Regions from separate parts of the Homo sapiens genome. Here region 1 is linked to region 2. The links are contacts of gene promoters, found by promoter capture Hi-C in blood cells and fetal thymus (Javierre and others, 2016). All regions are on one chromosome and are shown on one strand. Each heading gives the region's core, a stretch centred on a gene start or on the middle of the fragment in contact. The rest is flanking DNA. Distances are from core to core; before and after follow the strand shown.

What was found. Contacts are between HindIII fragments. The CHiCAGO score rates a contact against its expected background, and 5 or more counts as called.
Region 1: a fragment that was not itself captured here is called in contact with the fragment with the promoter of SEC24D in region 2 in 5 of 17 cell types (neutrophils, activated CD4 T cells, naive B cells and 2 more); the score reaches 8.9 in neutrophils.

Annotation. Positions count from the first base shown.
Region 1 is chr4:120,046,061-120,048,760 of GRCh38, forward strand. No RefSeq gene overlaps it. Among named protein-coding and RNA genes, the nearest start is that of MAD2L1, 19 kb to the right of the region's middle. The HindIII fragment of the contact is 799 bases long and covers 915-1,713 here.
Region 2 is chr4:118,834,869-118,837,568 of GRCh38, forward strand. It overlaps SEC24D (SEC24 homolog D, COPII component), which reads right to left and starts at 1,258. Exons shown (of 23, transcript NM_014822.4): 1 at 1,073-1,258. RefSeq lists enhancers at 614-1,505, 1,126-1,420 and a silencer at 932-1,421. The HindIII fragment of the contact is 6,235 bases long and covers 1-2,700 here.

The sequences.
Region 1 (2,700 bases), core at 64-2,563, 1.2 Mb after region 2:
TCTGAATGGTAAATGAGCATTGGCTTCAACTTAAAGCCACCAGCTGCATCAAACCCTAACAAGAAAGTCAGCTTGTCCTGTGAAGATTGGAAGCCAGGCATTGACTTCTACTCTCTAGCTATGAAAGTCCTAGATGGCATGTTCTTACAATATAAAGGCTGTTTGATCTACATTGAAGAATTTGTTGTTTAGTGTGGCCACCATCTTCAGTGATCTCATTTAGATCTTCAGGATCACTTGATGCAGCTTTTATTTACACCAGCATTTGCTGCTTCATGTTGCCCTTTCATGTTATGGAGATGCTTCTTCACTTTAACCTCATCAACCAACCTCTGCTAGCTTCCAACTTCTTTTCTTCAGCTTCTTCACCTCTCTCAGGTTTAAGAGAATTGAAGAGAGTTAGGCCTTGCTCTGGAATAGGCTTTGGCTTAAGGGAATGCTGTGGCTGGTTTGATCTTCCATCCAGACCACTAGAACTTTCTCCATATTGGAATAAGGCTGTTTCGCTTTCTTATCATTCATGTGTTCACTAGATTAGCACTTTTACTGTCCTTTAAGAATCTTTACTCCGCATTCACAACTTGGCTAACTGTTGCAAGACTCTTCAGTCTTCCTGGCTTTTGACATGCTTTCCTCACTAAACTTAATCATTTGTACCTTTTGATTTAAAGTGAAAGACATGCAACACTTTCACTTGAACACTTAGAGGTGATTAAGTTCATCTTAAGTTCACAGGACACCAAAATAATCACAATAGTAACATCAGAGATCACTGATCACAAAAATGAATATCATCATAATGAAGAAGTGTGAAATATTGTGAGAATTGCCAAAATGTGACAGAGACACAAAGTGACTGTGTGTCGTTAGTAAAAAAAACACTGATAGATTTGCTCTATGCAGGGTTCCCACAAAGCTTTGATTTGTGAAAAATGCAGTATCTGTGTGTGTGATAAAACGCACAACAAAACAAGGTATGCCTGTATTAGTTTATGTTTTGGGGCACACAGTGTATACAAATATGATTTTAAGACATCAACCAAAAGGAGTAGGGACGAACCTGTAAGGGAGCACAGAGGTGGATGTTATTGAGGTGAAGCTGGTAAAAATTCCAATTAGATTGGCATAACTTTAGGATGTCAGATGTAATCCCCATGGTAGCCACAAAGAAAAATCGCTATAAAATATGTAAAAATGGAAATGAGAAAGAAATGTAAACGTTTTAATATAAAATATCAAGTGAACACAAAAGAAGACAGTAATGCAGAAAATTATTGACAAAAAACTACAAACCATATAGAAAACAAGTAGCAAACTGTTAGAAGTCCCTTTGTTGTTAGTAATTACTTTAAATGTAAATGCATTAAACACTCCAATTAAAGGATTGGCCAAATGGATTAAAAACCATAATCCAAATATATGTTACGTGCAGGAGGCTCACTTTATTTTTTTTTAATTTTGAAATTTTTTATGAGATATGGGATCTCACTATGTTGCCCAGGCTGGACTCGAACTCCTGGGCTCAAATGGTCCTCCTGCTTCAGCCTCCCGGGTTGCTATCACTACAGGCATATACTACTGCGCCTGACATTGAGATTCACTTTAGATCCAAAGGCACAAATAGATGGAATGTGAAAGAATGAAAAAAAGATGTTCCATGCAAACAGTAACCAGAAGCGAGAAGAGATGGCTATACAAATATTTTTTTAAAAAAGCTTTAAATCAGAAAAGACAAGAACAAGAGACAAAGGAGGAGACAAAGAAGGACATTGCACACTTAGAGGGTTCAACCCAGCAGAAGTTATAACAAGTATAAACATGCATGCATCTAAAAACAGTCAATTAAAATACATAAAGCAAAAACTGAAAATTGCATGGATAAATAATCAGTTCTACAATAATAGTTGGAGATTTTAATATCCCACTGTCAATAATGAATAGGACAACCAGACAAAAAATAGGTAGGAAATAGTGAACTTAAACAACACATGAATCAGCTATATCTATCAGACAAAATTATGATTACAAAAAGAAGCATGGTGGTTACCAGGGGCTGGAGGGAGGGGAGAATGAGGGGTTATTGTTTAATGGTAATAGCATTTCCATTTTACAAGATGAAAAAGGTTATGGAGATGGATGGTGGTGATGGTTGCCCAACATTATGAATGTATTTAATACTACTGATTGTACACTTAAAATAATATGATGGCAAATTTATGTTATGTAAAAAACAATTTAAAAAACTAGAAAAAAATGAGAAAAAAGCCAATAAAAATTATTCTTGTTATTTATTTTAATTTGATAGATGAGCTCTTAATAGAATAACAGTGACAGAGTCTGTGTCTCAGTCAGCTCAAGCCACCATAACCAAATCCCATAGACTGGGTTACTTAAACAACAAAAGTTTATTTCTCACAGAAAAAAATTATTTCTCACAGGAGGTTTAAAGTCCAAGATCAAGGTGCTGGCATTTTCAGTTTCTGGTAGGGGCTCTCTTTCTGGCTTGTAGACAGCCACTTTTTAACTATATTTTTACATGGCAGGGAGAGAGAGAGGTGAGGGCGTCAATATATGAATTTAGGGGGACACAATTCAGTCCATAGCAGTCTCTCATTTATTTCTTTAAACTGAATTTTCACCCTAAAAATCACATAGAAGAGATAGTACAAGGTGATGCTATGCCAGTAATACCAACATTTA
Region 2 (2,700 bases), core at 8-2,507:
CTATATTCAAGAAATAACATTTCAAATTAAAAATTTGAAGCCTAAAATTTGTGATTTGATTTTGTTTCCATATTAAACTATAAGTTTCCAAAATAAAAGCAACCATGTAAAAATATTATGAGATCATTTCCTTCTCCTGGGAAGGGGAGAACTGAAAAAGAGGAGAGAGGCAGGCAAAGGCCTTCTGGTCCACTTTGTTTCTGACAACCCCTTTTTCCTCCTCCCACTTAGCAGAGAGAGACGTGGCAGCCTGAGCGCTGGTCAAGCTCATCCAACCAAGAGCACTTAGGAAGTCGGCACGAACACACCTAAGTAGCAGCCTGTTGCTGAGTGACAGAAAAGAGAGGCTGAGATGGTCACTCCAAAGAACAGGAAGCAGCCAGTTCCCTCTGAACTGGTCCTCAGAGGAATCAGCTTCCTCACGCAACCCAGTTTGCCACGTCAAACTTCCTCACACAGAGCACCAAGTTAAAGAAACCTGACTCAGCTTCAAGCGGCGACACGGCAGAAAGCCACTTGGTATAAGCAGGCCTAGGATCAAAATCTGGGGAGCCCCAACCCCAGAACGGCCCCCTGGCTCACTGTCACCCAGCAACTCTAGCCAAGGTGCACTTCTAACCCTGGAACAAGTTCGTATTTGGCCAGATCAGTTTCACTATTCGGATGTCCCGAGGCTTCAAGATATAGTTGCCATTTTTACCATGAATATTTCTAACATTTCCTTCCTTCAAAAAAGGAAATTAAGTTGATAAGGAGATGAGAAAACCGCTGGCAATGACACTCGAATGGTGGCCACTGAGGATCCTAACAAGGCAGTTCCTGCATCCCAAGGCAAAAGGTGGGGGCGGGTAAAAAATGCCCACGCCCACCTCCTGCTCCCCCATCCCGCCGGCCCCACTATTAAACTGCACTAGAAGGCTAAAGAACAAAGAATGAGTTCTCCTCCCGCCGCCACTGCCTCAGGTGAGCACCCGGCCTCCCGCCGCGTCCCCGGGCCGGGCGCCGCAACCCGCTCCGCTGTGCCTGGGCAGGGCTGTCCCGCATGAAGGCGTCCGCGGGTGGGAGGCTTTACCTGTTCCCGCTCCCGCACCCCGCGGGCTTCCGAGCGCTGGCGGCTCTGCGCCTAGTGCCGGCAGCCCTCGGTGGCCGGGCTCCCGCTGCGGTCGCTTCTCCCGCCGCGCCTCTTCCCCGGCCGGCGTCCCCTTAGCCTGGACTCACGCTCGGAGTTGCAGCTGGGCTGGGAACTGCCACGTCAAACCCTTTCTCGGCTGCGCGCCCCCAGCGCCGGGCTTGGACCAGCCGCCGCGCTCCCGCCTGCGCACGCGCACAGCCACCGGCCGCCGCGGGGCGGGGCCACCGGGCTGAGCCTGCGAGCGGCCGAGCGACCTCCCCCTTTTCGCTTTTTCCCTTTTTCCGGTTTTTTGTTTTTTGGTTTTCTTTTTCCCGTCTTTTCTTTCCCCTCCCCCTACAGGTCAAAGCCTTTAACGTCGTGGCTAAATCAGAACCGTATTTTCTCGGCGCAGCCCCGCAGGAAGGAGGGGAGCGCGTTCATTCATTCTTCCATCAACAGGTTGCAGTTTCAGCTCTTCATTCATTACGTATTACTTAAATAACTAATAGTTCAGGTACTGCACTACCGTTACATACGGGAAAGTACACGATCTGGACCTAGGGGAGATTACCGTTTAAAGGCGAATCTGGCACGTGTACACGCACATTTGATGACGTACCCGTGCAATGCACTACAGAGGAAGGAACGCCCAAAGCAGCCTGGCAACGTGTAACGCGGGAGGAGTGGGGGGTGGGGGAGATGTCCCAAAGGAAAAGTGTGGGAAGTGGGGTTTCCATTGATATTGGGGTTGTTAGCGTTGTGTATACTCCTTCTTCCGCATATTCCTTGTTTGTGAAGTAGGATGGCTGATCCCAGCCCCAAACAGGAATCTCTGCATGGAAAAGCACCCAGCGTTTAGCTCACCGTCCTGTGAGAAACAGCTCAGAAATAAAGGCAACCTATATGAGATCTGGAGCTTACCTCTCTATCTCACCCTAAAATCAGGACCATCTGGCTGGTTTCCTATCATCTTTCACTGCTAAATAGAAAGACATTCAGCCACTCCCAGGTTTGGTATAGCTACCACTTTGCTCAAACTTACAAAGTAAAAACCAGCCCGGTGTTGTTGTTTTTAACATGCACTTTCTTCCCGGCTACAAGAAAGCCACTTGACAAATACCTTTACTGATGAACTGCCTAGGTAAAAACGTACATGGGGATGTTGCTACTCCCGAAATGCTACATGAATTGTGCAGGAATTTTAAGTCATTTTAGCAGTAAAGATATATGGTCCATTTATCCCACTCTTAAAAGTTTTTAAGGCATGGGGCAAGGCACAGTGGCTCACACCTGTTATCCCAGCACTTTGGGAGGCCAAGCAGGGAGGATTGCTTGAGGCCAGGAGGCAGTGAGCTATGATCACACCACTGCGTTCCAGCGTGGGCAACAGAGTGAGACCCTGTCTCAAGAAAAAGAAAAAAAGATTTTAAGGTAAGATATCTGGCCTACATCCAGCTTCAACACTGATCAGGTTTGAAAACCCACATTGAAATTTTTGTTTTAAATTGTTTCTTGTATTCTCAATGTGATGAAAATGTTCAGTGGAAGTTTAGGAAGTTTTGGCCGGTGTTGAAGCAGTACAGCTTGTA